Regions from separate parts of the Homo sapiens genome. Here regions 2, 3 and 4 are each linked to region 1. Evidence: promoter capture Hi-C in 16 types of primary human blood cells and fetal thymus (Javierre and others, 2016). All regions are on one chromosome and are shown on one strand. Each heading gives the region's core, a stretch centred on a gene start or on the middle of the fragment in contact. The rest is flanking DNA. Distances are from core to core; before and after follow the strand shown.

The links. The method cuts DNA at HindIII sites, captures the fragments that hold promoters and counts their contacts. A CHiCAGO score of 5 or more calls a contact.
Region 2: a fragment that was not itself captured here is called in contact with the fragment with the promoter of DNTT in region 1 in 1 of 17 cell types (neutrophils); the score reaches 5.4 in neutrophils.
Region 3: a fragment that was not itself captured here is called in contact with the fragment with the promoter of DNTT in region 1 in 1 of 17 cell types (endothelial precursors); the score reaches 5.9 in endothelial precursors.
Region 4: a contact is called between a fragment that was not itself captured here and the fragment with the promoter of DNTT in region 1, in 9 of 17 cell types (naive CD4 T cells, endothelial precursors, M2 macrophages and 6 more). The highest score is 8.8, in naive CD4 T cells.

Annotation. Positions count from the first base shown.
Region 1 is chr10:96,302,970-96,305,827 of GRCh38, forward strand. DNTT (DNA nucleotidylexotransferase) reads left to right here and starts at 1,465. Exons shown (of 11, transcript NM_004088.4): 1 at 1,465-1,731. The coding sequence starts at 1,529. The HindIII fragment of the contact is 4,232 bases long and covers 1-2,858 here.
Region 2 is chr10:95,965,775-95,968,632 of GRCh38, forward strand. It overlaps CC2D2B (coiled-coil and C2 domain containing 2B), which reads left to right. Exons shown (of 35, transcript NM_001349008.3): 13 at 122-224; 14 at 416-528. The region is part of intron 2 of ENTPD1-AS1 (ENTPD1 antisense RNA 1); the gene reads right to left. Among named protein-coding and RNA genes, the nearest start is that of CC2D2B, 59 kb to the left of the region's middle. The HindIII fragment of the contact is 1,914 bases long and covers 509-2,422 here.
Region 3 is chr10:95,993,219-95,996,076 of GRCh38, forward strand. CC2D2B (coiled-coil and C2 domain containing 2B) reads left to right here. Exons shown (of 35, transcript NM_001349008.3): 23 at 2,051-2,147. All of the region lies in intron 2 of ENTPD1-AS1 (ENTPD1 antisense RNA 1), which reads right to left. Among named protein-coding and RNA genes, the nearest start is that of CCNJ, 49 kb to the right of the region's middle. The HindIII fragment of the contact is 3,350 bases long and covers 1-2,858 here.
Region 4 is chr10:96,028,742-96,031,599 of GRCh38, forward strand. The region is part of intron 34 of CC2D2B (coiled-coil and C2 domain containing 2B); the gene reads left to right. The region is part of intron 2 of ENTPD1-AS1 (ENTPD1 antisense RNA 1); the gene reads right to left. Among named protein-coding and RNA genes, the nearest start is that of CCNJ, 13 kb to the right of the region's middle. The HindIII fragment of the contact is 1,017 bases long and covers 843-1,859 here.

The DNA.
Region 1 (2,858 bases), core at 215-2,714:
CTCAAATAATATGGCACAGACGGCCAGCCATGGTGGCTCACACCTGTAATCCCAGCACTCTGAGAGGCCGAGGTGGGCCGATCACCTGAGGTCAGGAGTTCAAGACCAGCCTGACCAACATGGTGAAACCCCATCTCTACTAAAAATACAAAAATTAGCCAGGCGTGGTGGCGTGCGCCTGTAATCCCAGCTATTCAGGAGGCTGAGGTAGCAGGATCGCTTGAACCCAGGAGGTGGAGGTTGCAGTGAGCTGAGATTGTGTCACTGCACTCTAGCCTGGGCAATAAGAGCGAAACTCCATCTCCAAAAAAAAAAAAAAGGACAAAGGGTGAGCAGAGCTCAGATTGGTTATTGGAGAAGACAATACAGAGGAAGGCTCCTTGGTGGTTAAGAGTAGTCTTTTAAAATCAGACAGATCTGAGTCCAAATCCTAGCTCAATCATTTCTCAGTTGTGAAAATTCAGTAGCTCTGTGACCTTGGGCAAATTGTTTAGCCAAATGAGAAAGGTAGGACCACCTGACAGTGGTATTGTGAGGATCCTGTCAGCTAAGGCTGGTAGGTGCTTGCCTTGGCCGTGTAGTAGCTGCTCAGGAAATGAGATCTATAGAGTGTATTGGTGAAAGACAAATTTAATTTTGCACATAAAGTTATGAAAATGTCTCCTTATGGCAGTGGTTATCATCTAAAAGTCATACCATCCCACTGAAGAAGACCTATTTTAGGGTTTATAACAGACTACTCTCTGGACAACCTTAATCCACTTAAAAAACTAATATATGCATACAGCATTTGGAATCCAAAGAACTGAATTCAAGATATGGCTTGGCCCCTTATTCTGTGATCTTGAATAACTGAGCCTTGGTTCTCTTGCTTATAAAATGTACCTATGTAAGTGAACAGGTGGTAATACCCACCATGAAATACTATGGAGCAGTTAGAAGCAACAGAGCAATTAGAATACGGATCTGGAAAACATAGTTCCAAGTGAAATAAAAAGGTGATTGGCAAAATGAGAAATGTAACAATGCCATTTATGTAAAGTCAAAACAACCACAAGCAGAATATAACACCCATGCAAATAACAGACATCCAGTACAGTGTAATGATTGTCTACAAAAGGAGGAGAATGCAAGTGAGTTGGGAGGTTTAAAGGGGATCAATAAATAAAGACCACAGAAGGGCCTCAGTACATTTAGAAATAAATAACATGCAAACAATGATGCTTCCCTACCTTCCTCACGAGGTTACTCTGAGGAGCTAATGAGATTGTGCGTATGAAAACAAAAGTTAATTGACTGTCTTCATTATGATCTCCATATTGGACAAATGAACTGAACAGAGATAAAAATTCCCCATCACACTTTGGCAGGAAGCTGTTGCCAGGGCAGCACCTGTGAAGCCCTGGCCTGGCTTCAGAGTCTGCTGGTGAGATGACATCAAAACCCTTCGTGTAGGAGGGTGGCAGTCTCCCTCCCTTCTGGAGACACCACCAGATGGGCCAGCCAGAGGCAGCAGCAGCCTCTTCCCATGGATCCACCACGAGCGTCCCACTTGAGCCCTCGGAAGAAGAGACCCCGGCAGACGGGTGCCTTGATGGCCTCCTCTCCTCAAGACATCAAATTTCAAGATTTGGTCGTCTTCATTTTGGAGAAGAAAATGGGAACCACCCGCAGAGCGTTCCTCATGGAGCTGGCCCGCAGGAAAGGGTTCAGGGTTGAAAATGAGCTCAGGTAGGACAGCATCGATCTTGCTTTGTAAATAAGCAGAGGCTTTGTGAACAGCTTCTTGGGAACCCAAGGAACCTGTGTTTTCTTCCACATGTGGAAGAGGTGATCTTCCCACTGGGAGAACAGCAGATTTGAAATCAAAGAACAACTAGTTAAGGAAAACGAGATAAGTGGGGACTGAATACAATTATATTGAAACTAGTTGACACCAAAAGATGAGATAAATTTTTTGTTTTTTGCTTTTCACTCCTATGAGATGTGTTATTTAGGGATGATAAGCAGAACACTAATTGGAAAATTTAATGCTGAACCACTCAATTCTATTCTTGACCAATTTGAACAAAGTATCACTGGGTTCAACAAAAAAGTTTTGGCTACTTTGATGCAGAAAGATGATTTGGTTGCTTGGTTCTTACCTATACATCTGGGCGTGCTAAGGCAGCTAGCATCTGTGGTGGGCGAGGATGACTAGCCAGCTTACCACAGGCACCCAGATGTGGCCTTGACCACATTTTTCCAAAGAGTGGTCCTAGTGGGGTTCTTAGAAAGAGAGATGCTAGGTAAAGATGTATTCACTGTTAAGACAGCTCTGTCCAGGGATGACAGACATCACACTGAGTGAGATGTAATCAGAGCCCAGGCAAGGAGGCGATAGAAGCATTTGGACCACCTAGATTGGTTCACTCACTAATCCACTCACCTTGAACAGCAATTATTCTTGTTGTTTTTCTAACTTCTGTGTAAGCTCTTCACTGATCTCAAATAGATGAAGAGAAAACAAGCAAAATCCAGAAACAAATGGTATTAGAACCTTGACATAAGTGATGGTTCTGGATTAAACTGTTAAGGGGCTTGCAATGAAGGAGTAATGATTTATGCAGTTGACCGCTTTGACTGTGCAAGAAATAAATTGACCACAAATTTTCAGGCAAAACTATAAAAATTTTATGTGAAAGGACATTTTGATTGTATAAATAGTCTTTGATATTTGAAAATAAAACTGACAAGCATGTCATGCAGAAGAAATGTCAGCTTCCAAGTGTTGAGGAGACATATTTCAAAAGTCAATTTTCAGATATGTTAATGTTCGCAACACCCTGATTCATATGACATTGACTTTTCATTCATTT
Region 2 (2,858 bases), core at 216-2,715, 340 kb before region 1:
GAGATTGGTTTTGTGTGTGTGTGTGTGTGTGTGTGTGTGTGTGTGTGTTGGCAAAATCTCGAACAACTCTCAAATACCTCCATTATTTCTGCTTTCAATAATTCTGTTTATTATTAATTAGGATTAAAATGAATAAATGTGATGAACAAGAGCAAATCTCAGAAATGTCTGAAACTGAGAAGAAAAATGAAGGAAAAGAACTTAAGAATGGGAAAAAACTGGAGGTATTTATATTGCAAAATAACATTAAACTCAACTAGTTATAATATTTTATTTTTTGATAGAATGTGAAATCTTGGTATTTCTAAAAGTTATCCAACAAACTGACAAATACAAGAAATAAATGAATTTTAAGAATAAATGTCCTACACAGGGATGTACATGGCAAATCATATATTTATTTTTTGATTTCTAGAGCCTCTCATATCTAGCTTCAGACGAAACAGAAATTGAAAGAATAAAGCCAATTACCTTGAGGCCACAACTTTCTTTCACTGCAGAATTAACAAGCTTATCCAAGTGTTCCTTGTAAGCATGTTTAAATAATTATTTATTTATTATATATTGTCTATTAATTGGATTGTTTTTAATAATAAAGTGGGATTTCTTGGGTGAGTACCATATGCCAGGCACTCTAAGTTTTTAAAAACACATTTTCATATTTAATTGTCACCATAACTCTATAGAGTTCCATATTATCCTCATCTTAAAGAAGGAATGTAGCTCATGGGAAGTTAAATTGCCCAGGTTCACACATCTAATACATGCCTGAGGTGGGACATAAACCAGTTTGGTGTTCTATAGAAACTGTGATATCTTCACTGCTAGTCTTCATATATTGATAATTTGCAGGGTTTTTTTGTTTTGTTTTGCTATGTTAGTAATTTTCGTTCAGGTATAAATAGGTGAGATATAAAGGCACTGTAAAAAGTAATATACCATTGTCTTTGCTTGTTAAAGGAACTCTGGCTCTCATAAAAACTATTTCACATCAAGAGGGCCCCCTAAACAATTTTCTTCTTTGACATTACAAACTTCTTTACTTCACAGTTGTGATTTCTTCCTTGAGCTGTAATGTTTTCTCTCTATGCCTAGAACATTATGCAAAAACAGACATCATAGGTAACCCCATTTCTCCATCTACTAGGCCTATGGATCCCATCTCCCTTAAAGAGGATATGGCAACTTAGAGTACTAGGTCTAATTTTTCAACATCTCTATCCCATGGCACACTTGGTACCAGTCCATCATTGAGTATTGGGAATGTGCATCATTTAGCAGTGTTGGAAAATACTGGGTAATCAATAAATGTTTATATATATTAAATGAGTGAATGGATGCTTACATTAACAACCAAAAGGGCAGCAGACACAAAGTCACAATTATCACCACCCACTTTCTGACCAGAGAAGTGCAGCAGTGGAGAAATCCTTTATTTGTTCTGTACCTTCTTCCAAAAAGGGCCTGAGATACTTTATTATGTAGGACACCCATATAAAAAGACTATCTAAACAAGGGGAAGAATACAGGAGCCATAAAATGAAAGTTGGAGGGAGAGAGAAGAAAGAGGAGGAAGAAGATATTTGTGCTGGAAAACCTAGACTAAAACTTAGTGGAAGTCAAGGCAAAAGGATGTATGGTGTTTTATATCTTTGCAAAGCCATTGCCATCCGATAGCATTGCTGTCATCTATTTAACACACCCAGTAGAATAAAAACTCATTCTCCAGAAAAGAATAATATGTCGATATAGAGGATAGAAGTGAAAAGAATACAGAGATTAGAGAAAAATTAAAAAGAGTTTACAGGTGAAGAGAAAGGCAAGATTTCCTGAAGATAATTATAACCCTGAATAAACAAATTTTTAAAATCAATTCAACAAACTTTTAAAATCAAATTCAAATTTTTAAAATCAATACTTTTAGAGGGCAACAGAAAGGGTAACTTTTACTTAGATATTTCTTGAAAGGTAATTGGGAATATGGTCGAAAGAGGCCAACAGGGAGATAAGAATAGGTAATCTTTTGTCCCCTAACTCTTTGAGAAGGTTACAGAGATGGACAGATAATAAGGCAGGGACATACTGGGCCCATAGGGTGATTAGATTGGGGAGCAGAAGGGGATTTTATGTTTCAACTTAGGGTTTATCTTCCACCCAGCCTTCTCCCTTCTGAGAAAGAGGGTCAAGTCTTAAACATCATTAGATCAGTTCTCTTGCCACTAGGAAAATATTCAATAAACATTGGTTGAGTGAATTAAACAACGAATGAAAGACTCTAGGAGTTTTATATCAGTCAAGGGATCAACTTATGCCTCAACAAGTGTTTCCCCCAGGGAAGTAACCTGGCTTGCTCCTTTGATCTTTGGGTTCAGAGATAGGGTGGCCTCCCCACTGTCCTGGAGAAAAGGGGTACACAGCCTAAAGCTTAAGGTGATTTACAAAGACCTTTAAGAGGACACAGCAAGCCTGTTGCCTTAGAGCCACATCTTTGAAGTTATTGACAACATGGTGTGTGGAGGGTTGTGTGTTTGTGTATATAGTCTATGTGTGTGTCTTTTTAAAGTTAGGAAATATTTTTAAATTCTTGATTCAACCTCCCCTCCCCATTCCCAAGCCCCTCAGTTTTTTCCTCTCATAAGACATCTGGTAGATATGTGCTGTAATCTCTTTAAATTGTAATTTAGTAAAATAAGAGCTGAATGATTTATAGGACCTTGATTTTAGTTCTATTTTTGAATACATATTTTGAGTACATCTCTTTCATTAAAAACATTTGACTGGGAAGAAGAAACTTTTATCCACATGTAGACAAGTGTTATTTGATGTAAAGATAACATTTGTCCTCTGAAATTATCTTC
Region 3 (2,858 bases), core at 214-2,713, 310 kb before region 1:
TTTGGGGGCAGAGGATACATGGGGCCAGAGTGGACATCACTAGTGGGTGGGCAAAGTACAGCATCATGAATATTAAGTGCCCACGTGTATTTAGTGTATCCTGGATATTTAGTGTCTCATATATGTAGTGTCAGTATGATTTATATATTACTAATATTTATACCCAAATGCCTTAAGAATGTTAGGCATTCCCCTCTGTCTGTGTTCAATACATGTGCCCTGCTTGCTTACATTTATGCCTACCACAGCTCATGAATTCTTCCTATGAAAAACAAATGCTTTGCTTACTGGCTACTAATCTATAGTTAACATCTCTTAAAGGTTTTGCCAGTGTCTTACAAATTACAGCCTTGTTCTTCTAAAAGAATTAAGTATGCTCAAAACAAATGCATATTTCAAAGGCTGTTTTGTGAAATAAAGACATATAAAATCACCACCATTTTCTATAAGCATCATGCTGCTAAAAAAAAAAAAAGAATATTGTAACACCAAAAAAGTAGGAGGGATATATTCTTAAAGTATAACTTGTCATATATATATAGAAAGAGTGTGTATATATATAGAGTATATATATATAGAGAGAGAGAATATATATAGAGTGTATATATAAAGAGTGTATATATATATATATATAGAGAGAGAGAGAGAGAGAGTGTATATATATATATATAGAGAGAGAGAATGTGTGTGTGTGTGTGTGTGTGTGTGTGTGTGTGTGTGTGTGTATGTATGTGTATATATATATATATATATATATATATATATATATATATATATATAGTACAGTCCAGCCCTACGGGGCTTAGCAGGGATTCTCCCTGTGTGCAGAGACGAGAGATAGTAAGAAATAAAGACACAAGACAAAGAGATAAAGAGAAAACCGCTGGGCCCAGGGGACCACTACCACCAAGATGCAGAGACCGGTGGTGGCCTCAAATGGCTGGGCGCACTGATATTCATTGCATACAAGAAAGGGGGCAGGGTAAGGAGGGTGAGTCGTCCAAGTGATTATAAGGTCAAGCAAGTCACCTGATCATGGGACAGGGGGCCCTTCCCTTTTAGGTAGCCAAAGCAGACAGGGAAGGCAGCATACATCAGTGTTTTCTTCTATGCACTTGTAAGAAAGATCAAAGACTTTAAGACTTTCACTATTTCTTCTACCGCTATCTTCTAAGAACTTCAAAGAGGAACCAGGAGTACGGGAGGAACATGAAAGTGGACAAGGAGCGTGACCATTGAAGCACAGTGCCACAGGGAGGGGTTTAGGCCTCCGGATGACTGCAGGCAGGCCTGGATAATATCCAGCCTTCCACAAGAAGCTGGTAGAGCAGAGTGTTCCCTGACTCCTCCAAGGAAAGGAGACTCCTTTCACAGTCTGCTAAGTAACGAGTGCCTTCCCAGACACTGGCGTTACCGCTTGACCAAGGAGCCCTCAAGCGGCCCTTATGCGGGTGTGACAGAGGGCTCACCTCTTCCTTTCTAGGTCACTTCTCACAATGTCCCTTCAGCATCTGACCCTATACCCGCCGGTCATTCCTTGGTTATATTAGTAATACAAAAAGAGTAATATTAAAAGCTAATGATTAATAATGTTTATACTAATGACTGATAATGTCCATGATCATCTCTATATCTAATCTGTATTATAACTATTCTTATTTTAACTATTTTCCTTATTACACTGCAACAGTTTGTGCCTTCAGTCTCTTGCCTCGGCACCTGGGTAATCCTCCACCCACAATATATATTTTAATTGACATCCATCGTGAATAACTTGCCTTTTCTTCCCCTTTTTCTGAATACCTGTGAATATTTTATCATAGACGAGATCTAATCCATAGTTCAATATTTAGGAGTTGCGCTTCCAGAGTAGTAATTATCAAATGTTTAGCTGTAACCACACATGATAAGACAATTCAAGGCAAACTCAGTAAGAACCAGAGAAACTGACTTATATATCTTCATAAGCACAGGAAAAACCCACCCACTCCTACCAAAACTAATATTAAAACTAATTAAGGTGTATGTCTCTCTATTGTTTTTCCTGAAGATCCTTGGATATGCCTACTTGTTTGAAATCATCTATATCTTGCCTCAGACATAGAGAAACAATCAAATCAGTAGCCTCAGATGAGACCTTACATGAGGTAAGTATTTAACACTTCTATAAAGTATAATATTGATTATGTTTGTTCTGAATTACAATTGACTCTTAATTCATCTCTCCATCTATATTTTCTTTGGCTTCCAGTTTATTTTCCATGACACAGTAAAGGTGGCCTTTATAAAATGTAATTCTAACTATTTCATTCCCTGCTCTCAGGGTCTATATGATAAGGTGTAAGCTCCTTAAAATGGCTACAAAATCTTCAGGCATCTGGCCCATGCCTACAATCAGCCTCATCTCTTTCTATCCCATAGGCATATCATGCTACTCCTTGTTCTATGAGGCCTCTACTAGTTGTTTCCTTTGCCTGGAATGGCCTCGACGCATATCCATGTTATTGTCCAAAGGAACTACGACTTAAAGTTTCAAAGCACACGCTCAAGCAATGTTTTCTCCATGATGCTCTCCTTATTGTCACCCCCAAAAGTTAATCATTCCTTTTCCTGAATAATTTTCATACCTTAAAGATGTTTCTCTTATTTCTCACATTTCATTGCACTTGTTTGTTTACCTGTATATTTTCCCCTGATAGACTTTAAAATCCTTAAGAGAAAGTTCTGTTTATCTTTAGATCCTAGAAAAGTACCTGATATAGAATAGACCCAGTAGATGTTTATTCAATAAATAAATAAATAATGGTCATTTGAAAAACTAGAAAACTTAAGCCATACATTTGCCAAGTAATTTCCTA
Region 4 (2,858 bases), core at 101-2,600, 270 kb before region 1:
TGAACGGATAAGGAAAATGTGGTGGATATACACAATGTAGTACAGTTCAGCCATAGAAAGGATGAGATCCTGTCATTTGCATCAACATGGATGGAACTGGAGGTCATTATGTTAAGTGAAATTAGATAGGCACAGAAAGACAAACATCACATGTTCTCACTTATTTGTGGGATCTAAAAAGCAAAACAATCAAACTCATGGAGATAGAGAGTAGAAGCTTACCAGAGGCTGGGAAGGGGAGTGGGAGTTCAGAGGGAGGTGGGGAATGGGTAATGGATACAAAAAATAGAATGAATAAGACCTAGTATTTGATAGCACAACAGGGTAACTATAGTCAATCATAATTTAATTGTACATTTAAAAATAACTAAAAGTGTATAATTGAATTGTTTATAACACAAAGGATAAATGCTTGGGGGGATGAATAGCCCATTTTCCATTATGTGACTACTATGCATTGCATCATTGCATGCCCATATCAAAATATCTTTTCATGTACCATATATATATATATATATATATATATATATATATATATATATATGTATATATATATATATATATGTATATCTATATATGTACTATGTGCCCACAAAAATTAAAAATTTTTAAAAATGCATTTACTTATAAACCAAGAAACTTCAAATGTGTTGAAGAATTATTACTAGGACCATGTTGCATGGCATTAACTTGGAACCAGTTATATGTTTTATGATGTATAAATTACAGGTTTTGCAAAGAGATGTCCAAAAGGAAACCACTCTGCAACTAAAAAACTAAGAAAAACCTCTAGTAGTAGATCAATTCCCTGTTATTTGTTCTGGGCAAGAGGACTCCAGGCAAGCTTCAATATCTTCTACATGCAAATTACAGTGGTCCCTTGGTATCATTAGATTTATCTCAGGACCCCCACAAATACCACAGTCCAGAGATGCTCAAGTCCCTTATATAAAATACCATAGTCTTTGCATATAATCTATGTACAACCTCACACAATAGTTAGGTATTATAAGTAATAATTATAAATAGTTACATTATATTGTTTTCTATTTGTATTATTTTTTATTGTTGTTTTGTTTTTTTTTTTGCGACGAGGTCTCACTTTGTCACCCAGGCTGGAGTATAGTGGTGTGATCATAGTTCACTGTAGCCTCAAACTCCTGTGCTCAAGCAATCCTCCTGCTTCAGCCTTCTGAGTAGCTGGGGCTACAGGTACTTGCCACCATGCCTGGCTAATTTTTAAAATATTTTTGTAAAGATGGGGTTTCACTATATTGCCCAGACTGGTCTTGAACTGCTGGGCTCAAATGATCCTCCAGCCTTAGCCTCCCAAAGTGCTGGGATTACAGAATGAGCCACTGTGCCCAGCCTGCTATTTTTTATTTTTTTCTGGATATTTTCAATTTGTGGTTGGTTGAATCCTCAAATGCGAAACCCATGGATATGAAGGACCAACCGTACTTCCAAATTTATACATTCAGCCAGGCCACTGACATCTTTTTGGATGGTAAAAAGACATCTCAAACTCAGCAAGTCCATAAACAAACATGGTGGGCATCTAGTATATTGTTAGGGTGCTCCTTTCCTTCTCCTACTCTACCCCAAGCTCTGGGCATCCTTTCACCTCTTCTTCCCTATAAACTGGCCCAGTGGGTTTTTGAAAACCTCAGCCTCCCAAGAGTGAGACTCCTTCCCCTTACCATGCAATAGACTAGAGGGTGTCTGCTAGGGAACTCTCTGAGATGAAGTAAGGAATCTATTGGGAGTTGAGTACTTAGGTGGGGAGGGAGGGATCTACAGGCACTATTCACTCATGAATAGGGAGGAAGTTGTTTTTGCTTTGCTTTGCTTTATTTTAAAGCTTATAAACAATAGAAATTTATTTCTCATGGTTCTGGAAGCTGGGAATTCCAAGATCAAAGTGCTGGCAGAAAAGGGGTTCTTGTATATATAATACACCTTCTTGCTGTTTCCTCATATGGTAAAAGAAGTAAGGTAGGTTTTGCTTTGTTTTTAGTAGAATTAGGAGATAAACAGATAATAAAGCATAGTTAAATATAAGCCAAGGTTTAAAATGTGGAGTACCTATGTAAAATAATCAATTTAGTAATACATAGTCTACAATAAAACTGGACTAAACCCTGCAGCCCATGCTCAAATCCTAGTTTAACTACTCAGTAGCTTTGACCTAGGGCAAGTGACCGAATCTCTCTATACCCTCTACTCCATTAGAAAACAGGAATTTTTTTAAAAAAGTTATCATTTTATCATTGTCTTGAGGATTATGTGAGTTAATAATTACCATGGCACCCAACACCTAGTAAGTATTTAGTAAATGCTATCTATTTTTTTTCTTCTATGTGCCAGGCATTATGCTGGACACTGGAGTTATAGTAGTACACAGGACAGATACAGTCTTGTACATCTGCAGAGATTATGGGTTAGTTAGAGAGAGACCAGAAAACAGGTAATTGCAACATATTTTATTAAGTAAGCTCAAGGAAGGACAGTGTGCTACACAACTACATGGGAAGAGCGTGTGAACAGATTTAAGGATCAGGAAAATCCTCCTGAGCTAAGCAATTACAGTGTGAAAGAATGGTTGTCATCTATGTATTATTAAACAGGTAATTTTCCATGGGACCATGTTCCACAATCCTTTAATCCCATCACATAGTAGTCACTTAATAAACATAAACTGAATCGATGTTGAATAAATTGTTCTGAAATTCTCACTTAAATCCCCCATATGTAGAATCAAGTAATTTTCTCACCAGCAGTTTGCTCTCTAGAAAGTTTGTGGAATGTTACATGTGCAGGCTTTGGACTCAGACCTGGTTGTGCTCCTATCTGTAAAG